Linked DNA regions of Homo sapiens: region 1 is linked to region 2. Evidence: promoter capture Hi-C in human tissues and cell types (Jung and others, 2019). All regions are on one chromosome and are shown on one strand. Each heading gives the region's core, a stretch centred on a gene start or on the middle of the fragment in contact. The rest is flanking DNA. Distances are from core to core; before and after follow the strand shown. Region 1 overlaps MRPS9 (mitochondrial ribosomal protein S9). Region 2 holds the start of GPR45 (G protein-coupled receptor 45).

Evidence for each region. Contacts are between HindIII fragments. The study calls those that stand out against the background at their distance.
Region 1: a contact is called between a fragment that was not itself captured here and the fragment with the promoter of GPR45 in region 2, in 4 of the 25 tissues and cell types used here (H1 embryonic stem cells, bladder, neural progenitor cells and 1 more).

What each region holds. Positions count from the first base shown.
Region 1 is chr2:105,072,128-105,077,791 of GRCh38, forward strand. The region is part of intron 4 of MRPS9 (mitochondrial ribosomal protein S9); the gene reads left to right. Among named protein-coding and RNA genes, the nearest start is that of MRPS9-AS1, 28 kb to the right of the region's middle. The HindIII fragment of the contact is 4,140 bases long and covers 771-4,910 here.
Region 2 is chr2:105,237,262-105,243,279 of GRCh38, forward strand. GPR45 (G protein-coupled receptor 45) reads left to right here and starts at 4,482. Exons shown (of 1, transcript NM_007227.3): 1 at 4,482-6,018. The coding sequence starts at 4,598. The coding sequence ends at 5,716. The HindIII fragment of the contact is 15,889 bases long and covers 665-6,018 here.

The DNA.
Region 1 (5,664 bases), core at 1,591-4,090, 170 kb before region 2:
AAAGTATTAAAGCTAGAAATCATTTCTTTAAAAAACACTCAAAATGTAACCTGTACTTACCCATCAAGCTTTTGCTGTGACCCTAGAGGTTTGGTGGTTTTGAGTGTGTCTGCTGCTCCCCGTTGCTTTTATGTAACCATGCTGCTGATGCATCATCGCAGTCTTTCAGTTTTGATTTTCTTGCAGTGGAGCAGTGAACTTACACTTCCTAAGAAATCTGAGTGCAGAATATTTTTGTATTTCTACAGATTCTTCCCATCAACCTTACTGAAGTTGACACAACTTTTTTTTTTTTTAGCAACTTGCCTTTCTAGAGCATTCAACCTAGTTTTCTTAGAAGTAGCAACTTTTATGTTTGCACTCATATTTAATTTATTTATGTAATACTTAATTCATGTATTTATAGAAATAAGTACAACTGTAATAAAATAGGCTTGGGAGTAAACATAACTATTAGTAAGCATGAAACTCAGCAGCAAAAATGTGTGGATCTACTTGAGAATAGCTTGGTGGCCACAGGTTCTCAATACGCAGGCCGCTTTATCAGTGTGTTTAGAATTAAATAGAAATTGGTAAGATAGCAGATATTTCTATAGAAGACTTATTTATTTTGCAGTGGTATTTCTGCTAAGTCATATTTTTATTCAAAGCTAGGCATTTATTCTCTTATTCCAGTTCACTCTTGGAAATGATAACTTTTAGTTTGAATCTTATTATAAATGTTTTGAATCTTTTTATAAATATGCTCTATCATTTGTATTCCCTCAGTTCTTAATCATGGTTGATTATAAATTATACCATCGATTTAATAATAGCTTTTGGGGAAATAATAAATGAAGACTATGTTAAAAATGCACATCACTTTTGCAGATACAACTCAGTGTTACAGAAGTAAAACTATGCACAGGGCACAGTAACTTACATTAAACACCTAGTAGCTTTTCGGTAAATGTTTGTAATGACAGTGATTTTTTTTTCTTCTTCTTCTTTACTAACTCTTCTATTTTTTTAAACCTCTCAGGCTCCTCACCTATTTCTCTCTCTCTTTGTTCTTTATATCTCTACTAGTTGCATCTCTTCTTATACATCTGCCCCTCTAAGACTGGTTTGTTCTTTCAAATCATACCAGCTTCTCAGTATTAGAAGTTTATTGTTACTAGCAGCCAGGTTGTGACAACTGAAACTTCTATATATCCCTGCAAAATGCCCATGTGTTATTTTGAAAATATGTCACTCCTGGTAGGATTATCTTAAGTTGTAGTTTACTATATGTAACTGTATGTAAACAGTACTCCTCTAGAATTAGTAAAATTTTTTTGTTGCTTACCTACCTACCTCCCAATTTTGTTGTATTTCATAAATATAGGATAAACTGATTTTTTTGTATGCTAAAAAAGTAACAGTGAATTTTAGATTTGGATAGATTTTGACACTTATAGTGTACTAACACTTTCCTTATTAAAAGATGGAAGCTTCTAGATTGAGTTAACATGAAATCTTGCTCTGTATGTTTTAAAGCAAGTGATAAAAATATTAAGTGAAACAAAGATGACTACTGGGTCAACAGGAGCAAAGAGTAGCACTCATATTAGACAAAATGGAATTCAAGGAGTGTGAGGAATACTTCAACGAAGCAAGAATGTTAATTTATGTTGATAAAACCTAATCTCCATTGAGTAGATTTGATGACCACAAACCTTTTTGCACCAACATTTAGCATCGAAATGTTCAAAACAAAAGCCGTTAACTTAAGGCTATAACGAATTTGAATAACACAGCATGATTTTATAGTTACAGATACAAAGAATACATTTTCTATGCAGAGGCCTATGGACTATTAATAGAATTATGATGTAATTGGACATAAAGAAAACCTAACGAATTCCAAGTAGTAAAAATCATATCATTCGATTTTTCTGAGTTAAGATCAATAGAACCATATGACTGTTGAGTTAAAGAGAAAATCAAAATTGAGGTTACAGACATGACAATGACAACAGTTCCTATTAAATCCTATGGAATATGGACATTGTATTATACAGAGACAAGCATATATTTGTTAGAAATTAAGAAAGACTGAATATAAATGAACTAAATTTTCGGTTCAGGAAGCCAGAAAAAGAAAAATAGAATAGAGGAACATAGCGAAGAAATTGAAAAGAAGGGGTATGATAAACAAAACCATGTCATTCTTTGAAAAAGCTAGTGAAATCAATCAACTTCTAGCAAATCTGGCCAGGGAAAAAAGAGAAAACATAAGAGGACAATATTAAGAATTGTAAATAATAATATTCAGAGGGTAATTTTAAAGTATGCAGTTGTTATGGGTAACTTTATTCTAACTTGAAAAATCTCTCAAGTAAGAATTGTTAGCATTTATTGAAACAGAGTAGGCCAGGCATAGTTCTAAGTGCTTCCTGTGTGTTAACTTACACTCTTCACAACAGGTTTTTTAAGTAGATACTGTAATTTTCCCCACTGCACAAATGTAGGAATTAAAAGCACATGGAGTTTAACTTACCAAGGACGTAACAGCCAGGAAATAGTTGAGCCAGAATGTAGGGAGGCCCAGGCAGTTGTGGCACACACACATATGTATGACCACCAGACTCAACTGACTCTCAGACATGTAGTTGAAAGAATAATATAATTGCCACAGTTGTCTCAATCAGGAGAATAGTGGTTAAACCGGTGGTCCCCAGCCTTTTTGGCGCCAGGGACCAATTTTGTGAAGGACGATTTCACGGACCAGGGGTTGGGGGATGGTTTCGGGATGATTCAAGCTCATTACATTTATTGTGAGCTTTATTTCTATTATTACATTGTAAGATATAATGAAATAATTATACAACTCACCGTAATGTAGAATCAGTGTGAGGCCTGGGCTTGTTTTTCTGCAACTACATTGTCCCATGTGGTGTTGATGGGAGACAGTGACAGATCGTCAGGCCTTAGATTCTCATAAGGAGCATGCAACCTAGATCCCTCGCATGTGCTGTTCACAATAGGGTTCACGCTCCTATGAGAATCTAATCGCACTGTTGATCTGACAGGATGTGGCACTCAGGCGGTAATGTGAGCAATGGGGAATGTCTATAAATACAGATGAAGCTATGCTGGTCTGTGGTCTAGGGGCTGGGGACCCCTACTGTAGAACCAAGTGCTCTTACTGCGAAACACCCACTCTGGTCCCAGTTGACCAGTCATGACAGCAAATACAAATCAATAGAACCTGGTACCTGTCTGTGGCCCAGGGGTTGGGTACCCCTGTGTTAATCTAAAAGCTGCAGAAGTTATAAAGGAGCGCCAAAGGTCTAATGAGAAAGGCCCAGGCCTAGAAGGTTTTGTCGGGAAGCTCTGACATACCTTGAAGGAGGATGTAACTATTGTTATCATTTAAACTTGTAGAGCAGAAGAAAAGAATGAAAGCTTCTAAATTCCCTTCAGAGGGTCACACAATTATCAAATCTGGACATAAATTTCATGAAAAAGAAAGCTATAGTCTGTTGTCACTAAATAAAACACTAGCAAACCAAGTAAAGCTTTATATTAAGAGAGTATACCAGAGGGCCTTTTTTTCTCTCCAGGAAAATAAGGATGATTTATGTAATTCTCTGTGTTAATTGAGTCAAGGTTAAAACATTTCAATAAAAAAGTTAATTAACAAAATTGAGCATTAATTTTTTTGGTAAAAACACAACCTAGAAATAAAAAGAAACTTTCTTAGTTTGAGAAAGCATATCAAGACAAACAGAAACACATCAAATTTAAAAATATATCAATAGATCCCATTAAGTTCAGGAATAAGACAGTTATGTGCATACTCGCCTGTGTTATTTGGCATTGTTTTGGAAGTTTTACCTAGCATGGTTAAAAAAAAAAGTGTGGCTAAAAAAGTATGAATTAGAAAACTGAAAGAAATTAGGAAAATCGATTATTATTCACAGATGTTATGACTGCCTACTTAGAAAATAGAAAACATTCACTAAAAACTATATTAGAATTTCAGCAGACTACCATTATTTGGGTACCTGAATTCAAAACATTTAAACTATGAATTGTTCTGAAAATTTTAAAAATGATACCCTCTTATAAAAGCATGCCACAGTATAGTTACTGGGCGAAATGCTGATCCTGCAGAGATCATATGAGCATCCTGTCAGTTGATGACTCTGTGGCAGCCACATCTACACACAAAGAAATCAGTGTGGAATGGCATGTAATGATGAACTAAATAACATGATGGTCTTACTGGTAGCAAATGAATTGCAATCTTTCACTTCCTTTATGTATTTTGGCAGACAAGAACTGTTTTAAAAACGCTGAATTCCAACTATACAAATACATACCTACATATTCATACAGACACATACATACGTATATACATACATGTACCTCCTTTTTCTCAATTCATTTAATGGAATGCTGAAAAATAGACTATGCAGAAGATAACAGAGTTTGGTCAAGACTTTAAAAATTATTGTGTGTTTTTGGAGTTAAGAAATTCAAACTCTAGAACAGAAATAAGGTGGCTAGTTGAAGAATATACATACAGCTTTCAATACTTTTAAAGTAATAGATATTATGTCCTTAAAATCACAAAAACTAAAGGACAAAGATGACAAATTACTTATGTTGAAGTTAAAAATTTCTCTTTGACAAAGACACTAGGAAATTTGAAACATGCCAGAGGCCTGATACCTAGAATAAATTACTCACAAATTAACAAAAGCAGCTTACTAGAGAAATGAGCAAAGGCAAATAAGCAATTCATAAATAGAAAAAATTAAAGTACCAGTAAGCATTTGAAAATATCAGAGATCAGAAATAACATCTTATGGATGGGCATGGTGGCTCACCCCTGTAATCCCAGCACTTTGGGAGGCCGAGGCAGGTGGATCACAAGGTCAGGAGTTCAAGACCAGCCTGGCCAACATGGGGAAACCCCATCTCTACTAAAAATACAAAATAGCCGGGCGTGGTGGCGCACGCCTGTAGTCCCAGCTACTCGGGAGGCTAAGGCAGGAGAATCACTTGAACCCAGGAGGTGGAGGTTGCAGTGAGCCAAGATTGTGCCACTGCACTCCAGCCTGGGCAATAGAGGGAGACTCCATCTCAAAAAAAAAAAAGAAGAAGAAAAGAAATAACATCTTGTAAAACAATAATGAGAGACAATTATCACAATCATCAGGTTGGAAATTGTAAATATTGTATCAGCAACAAATTGGAAAAAGTCTAAATGTTCATCATAGGGTAGCTAAATAAACTCATGCTGTGGAATAATATACAGGCCGTAAAAAGAGTGAGATAGAGCTAGTTGTGCTAGTAGAGGTGTAACTTTGAGTGGAAAAAGCAAGTAAAAAAATGGTGTATGTAGCATAAATACAGTTTAATACCGTTTATATCTTTAAAAGAACCACACAAACAACCCTATTTCATGCAGGCATACATAGGTAAATGCACAGAGAGTCCAGAACAATAAACTCCCGCCTTGTTCTGGCAACGGAATTTTAACATGTGATCTGGGAAGTATGTGTTACTTGTGTAAAATTATGTTTTTATTATAGATAACTGAATAGGGGAGGGCAGTATCAAGAGAAACAGAAACTAAAATACACAAATAAGACTTGCAAAATATATGAGATTTATATAGAAAATTATGAT
Region 2 (6,018 bases), core at 3,232-5,731:
CTGGTTCTGCCCGCCTTTGTCCCCTCGCAAGGCATTATCCCTCCCCGCTTCAATCAGGGTCCGGCGGATCGTCTTCACGCCTGATCTTGAGGATGGGAAAGGGAGACAGGATCGTCTTCACGCCTGATCTTGAGGATGGGAAAGGGAGACAGGCATTTCTTACCTTCTCCTTCCTGACCACTTAAAGCCAAACATATTCCCAGCCGAAGATGAGAGTTGCTACCTGAAACGCCAAGTTTGCGAGCAGAAGGCCACTCGAATCCCCGCTTGACCAGGCCTTAGGAGGACGGTAGAGTCCTGGAGAGCTGCCCTGGCGCCGCTGCAGGGACCTCCGCTGTGTCCCCCAGTCCCTCAAAGCTCTCCTGGGCCGCATTTTCCCCTCTCATGTCTGTCTCACGAGGCCACTCACAGCCTGGCCTCCTCTCCCCAAGAAAACCTGGCAGGATCTCCCTACTGCACTGGAAACAAAAGCCTGGACGGGAGGTGTATGTGGACCAGGAAGTGCCAGCTTAAATGGAAGGAAACGGAGGGAACACAGCTCAAAAGCGTAGCCAAGTGGTGCTTTGCTATACTATGTTATCTCTTTTTGCATGTTTGAAATTTAACATAATAAAAAGACTTTTAAAGTTGGCAAAAGAAAAAGGGGAAGAGAACAAAGAAAGATAAAAGAAAGAAATGAGAGAGAAAAAGAAGGAAGGAAAAAAGAGAGAAGTAAGGAAGGAAAAAAGGAAGGAAGGAAGGAAGGAAGGGAGGGAGGCAGGAATGGAGGGAGGGAGGCAGGAAGGGAGGGAGGGAGGGAGGAAGAAAGGCTTTGGCAGGCCAGACACTGATACTTCCTAGCCTCCCGAGGCTGCCCCAGCGCGCCCCCTGGTGGTCGCACATAGAGTTGTCCTATTTGGAGAGCAAAGACAAAGGTTCTTTCCCTCATCCTCACTAAGTTCTTTTTTTTTTTTTTTTTTTTTTTTTTTTTTTTTTTTTGAGACGGAGTCTCGCTCCGTCGCCCAGGCTGGAGTGCGGTGGCGCGATCTCGGCTCACTGCAAGCTCCGCCTCCCAGGTTCACGCCATTCTCCTGCCTCAGCCTCCCGAGTAGCTGGGACTACAGGCGCCGGCCACCACGGCTGGCTAATTTTTTGTATTTTTAGTACAGGCGGGGTTTCACCATGTTAGCCAGGATGGTCTCGATCTCCTGACCTCGTGATCCGCCTGCCTCGGCCTCCCAACATGTTGGGATTACAGGCGTGAGCCACCGCGCCCCGCTGAAGGTCAGTTTTTAGAAGCCCATTCTTTATCTACTGGGAAAGGAGAACAGAGTGGGATTTTGTTTGAAATTTGTCTGTACCTCAACTGGTGTAGCTTGGGGGTGGGAGGATGGTTTTTCTTTTCCCTATGCTTGTCAGTGTCACAGACGTGAAGTCATCCTCCCCAAGCCACCGTCCTCACCACAGAACCATCTTTCTGTTGGAGTCTCAGCTTCCAGTCTCGGCTCCACTGGTCACTACTTTGCTGAACTGGGGCTTGTCGTGACTGTATCTGAGCTTCCCTTTCATAATTTCCCTGCCTTCTTGCCAGGCGTGAGGATGCAGAGGGAAGGCTTTAGAAAACCTTGCAGTAAACACAATGCATGGGTGGCCTCGTGTCCGCTTTGCTGAAAGCGCCTTCTATCTTTTGCGTGGACACAGCTCACTGAAGCCTCTGCCAGAGCACAGCTAGCCACACCATGGCACACAGCAGCACACAGCCTGGTCACACTTTCCTTAGTTGATTAATCACACTTCAGTCAGAGATGAAGATTTACCTCCTGACACTTGCACAGCCTCCCAGTTCCAGGGTGAGATCATTTGGAAAGGAACTAAAACAAATACCTTGAAACGGTTCAGTTCCCAGCTCGCTTCTTTCACAGCTTTAAATTCATATTGTGGCACCCATTTCTCATCGTGAAAGTCGCTGGAGACGGTGAGTGCTGTTACTCCAAGAACACCAGCAGAATATTTCTTGTTCACTTGTTACCTTTTACTTAGATCTTAGTGCCCTAGTCCCTTGTAATAAAAGCACTGTTGATTCAGATATTAACAACAGGACTGTGACCAAAATGCTAAATTAAAATACCTAAGACAGGTTGTTGTCCAGAAGCCAAAAGAATTTTAATCAGATTCAACCACAAGACATATACATTAAAAAAAATACCTTGCACTATTTGTTCCTTTAATTAAGCATGAAATCACTCTCTGTAACTATCATTGTGGGGAAAATCTAAGTTTATAGCATGGAGAGGAATGCAGATGAAGGATTCACTATCGGCTAAGATTGACAGGCACATGGATGCACGATACTGTGTTTTTTCTCAGTGGTCCTTTATTCTGTGCTCCAAGAGGAGCTTAATCCATTAGGGCTTCCTACATGCATGTCATGGTTCCTGCCATGAACAAATTTGCAGTTTAATCCAAGAGACAGAAACCCCTAAACTTGAAACAGTGAGGGAGATGGAGTTAATTTATTAATGCCCTTCTTTTACCAGACATTGCACATTATATTTACCAACTCTGGAGGTAAATATGTAATTACCTCCATTTCACAGATCAGAAAATTGAGATGAAGAAGGGTCATAATTTTGGTCTGAATGAGAGATAATTCCCACTTATAAATTAACACACCAGGTTTCTGATTTTTATAGCTCAGAAAAAGTTTGGATACTGGTGCCCACCACTGAGAGATGAACCCATTCTGGGTGTGTTTGGGAAGGAAGACCAAGGATTGGTTGGGTCTAAACTGAAGTATAGCATCACCAAGACACTGCCACTCCCAGGTCCTCTAAGCCTGCTCTGAGGCCTCCTGGCTTCTTACATTGCCCACATTCCTCTCAGTGTGAGTTATCTGTAACAATGACCACAAGGAATTTAGAAAAGAGAAATTTCTTACAAGAAGAGGTGCATCCAACAGCCAGATGTCCAGGGTGGATAAATGGCGCAGGCTGGATTTCCCCCAGCCCAGGCGATGTGACTTCAGACCTGAGCTACTGAACACACTCTTGCCACATCAGTGAGACAAAATTAAAATTATATTTATCTTTTTGAAAGTGAAAGCAAGTTTATCAAGAATGTAAGGAATAAAAGCTCATTTCATTTACTTTTTTTTTAAGAGACAGGGTCTCACTCTGTTACCCAGGCTGGAGTACAGTGACACCTTCTTAGCTCACGACAGCCTCGAACTTCTGTGCTTGAGCAATCCTCCTGCCTCGGCCTCCTGAGTAGCAGGGACTATAGATGGAAGCCTGGCTCATTTTTTTGTGTGTGTAGAGATGGGATCTCTCTATGTTGCCCAGGCAGGTCTTGAACTCCTGGCCTCAAGCAATCCTCCTGTCTCTGCCTCTCAAAGTGCTGGGATTATAGGCATGAGCCACTGCACCCAGCTAACATTGTATTTTAAAAGGCCTTACCTTTGGGGAAAGTTCCCTTCTCCCAGTCTGTGCTTCCAGAAGTAATAGTATAGCAGCCCCACAGTTATCCAAGATGTTACCATTAGGGAAAACTGGGTGAAGGACACACAGAATTTCACCATAGTATTTATTATTATAACTCCATGTGAATTTACACTTATCCATGTGAATTTACACTTATCAAATAAAGTTAAACAAACAGACTTACAATTTCTTTTAAAAAATTAAAACTTAAAAATGTATACTTAAAATTTGCTAAGAGGGCAGATCTTAGGTGAAGTATTCTTACCACCAAAACAAAATGATAATACTAGAAAAATGGCAGGAGAGAGCTTTGGCAGGGGGAGTGGGATATGTTTTTGGCCTTGGTGGTGATGGGTTTCTGGTATATTGAGATGTAAATTTGTACAGCTTTTGACATGTCAGTCATTCCTCGATGAAGTGGGGTTTTTTAAAGCTAAACAAATATTATAGCAGCAGCATCAACTATCACTTATTCATCTACTCAACAAGCATCCAAGTGTCCTCAACAAGGACACTTACTGCATGCCAGCCACTGTTGTCAGTACTGGGAGATAGCAGAGAATGAAACAAGCAAAACCTTTCTCTTGTGGAGCAGGATTCTAACGTTAGTTGGCTAGACCAAGGCTTCATTCCGACAGGTTGCTGAAAACTCAAGTTATTACATAAACACTAACTACAAAGTGTACTTCCTCAGTTTCCTCAGAAGATAGCTGATTAGGTTTTTCTGGGCTGCTTGACAAGACTCAGACAGTATTTGTGAATATCAAGCTTTGTCCCACGTGGTAAATAAACTTGTTTAGAAACACCTGTAAAGCTTAAACGCGTGCTTTCTTCAACGCGTTTGGAAACTCTAACCCCCTTCTCTTTTGTACTTTTGCTTGCTGTCCACTACAGAGGGTCCAAGCACGAAGCTGTGCACAGAGTCGCTCTCCACAGAGATGCTTAGGATGTGATCCATGAATCGCAAATCCCAGCTAGTGCTCACAAAGACGGACATTTCTCCCCAAGACCATTCCAGTGCCCCAGAGGTCCACAGACATCCAGGAAGATGCAGCCAGCAGACAAAGAATGGCAGCCACCCAAGTGCTGAGGGGAGCCCTCCCGGCCATTTCTGTCCCAGCTCCAAGGGTCTCTCCACGATGGCCTGCAACAGCACGTCCCTTGAGGCTTACACATACCTGCTGCTGAACACCAGCAACGCCTCAGACTCGGGGTCCACCCAGTTGCCCGCACCCCTCAGGATCTCCTTGGCCATAGTGATGCTGCTGATGACCGTGGTGGGGTTCCTGGGCAACACTGTGGTCTGCATCATCGTGTACCAGAGGCCGGCTATGCGCTCGGCCATCAACCTGCTGCTGGCCACCCTGGCCTTCTCCGACATCATGCTGTCCCTCTGCTGCATGCCCTTCACCGCCGTCACCCTCATCACCGTGCGCTGGCACTTTGGGGACCACTTCTGCCGCCTCTCAGCCACGCTCTACTGGTTTTTTGTCCTGGAGGGCGTGGCCATCCTGCTCATCATCAGCGTGGACCGCTTCCTCATCATCGTCCAGCGCCAGGACAAGCTGAACCCGCGCAGGGCCAAGGTGATCATCGCGGTCTCCTGGGTGCTGTCCTTCTGCATCGCGGGGCCCTCGCTCACGGGCTGGACGCTGGTGGAGGTGCCGGCGCGGGCCCCACAGTGCGTGCTGGGCTACACGGAGCTCCCCGCTGACCGCGCCTACGTGGTCACCTTGGTGGTGGCCGTGTTCTTCGCGCCCTTTGGCGTCATGCTGTGCGCCTACATGTGCATCCTCAACACGGTCCGCAAGAACGCCGTGCGCGTGCACAACCAGTCGGACAGCCTGGACCTGCGGCAGCTCACCAGGGCGGGCCTGCGGCGCCTGCAGCGGCAGCAACAGGTCAGCGTGGACTTGAGCTTCAAGACCAAGGCCTTCACCACCATCCTGATCCTCTTCGTGGGCTTCTCCCTCTGCTGGCTGCCCCACTCCGTCTACAGCCTCCTGTCTGTGTTTAGCCAGCGCTTTTACTGCGGTTCCTCCTTCTACGCCACCAGCACCTGCGTCCTGTGGCTCAGTTACCTCAAGTCCGTCTTCAACCCCATCGTCTACTGCTGGAGAATCAAAAAATTCCGCGAGGCCTGCATAGAGTTGCTGCCCCAGACCTTCCAAATCCTCCCCAAAGTGCCTGAGCGGATCCGAAGGAGAATCCAGCCAAGCACAGTCTACGTGTGCAATGAAAACCAGTCTGCGGTTTAGGGGGTCAGGGGGCCACAGAGAAGGGGCAGCTGAGCCCCAGTCCCAGGGTGGATCTGTCCTGCTCTGTTCCCTGGCATGTTGGTCATAGTCTGCACTTTGTGGTGGCAATTTAAGCACAAAGGTACTCATTTGTAATCAGATGAGCTGCAGCTCCCAAATTTCAAATTTTGGCACGATGAATTATTTTTGTTTCTCTTTGCAGAGAGCCAAATATGGGGCTGATGGGAACTGCAACGTCATTAAGTCAAAAATGGAGTGGGCTGGGGAGTGCAGAAGTTGGGCAGAAAGGGAGGAGGAGGGCA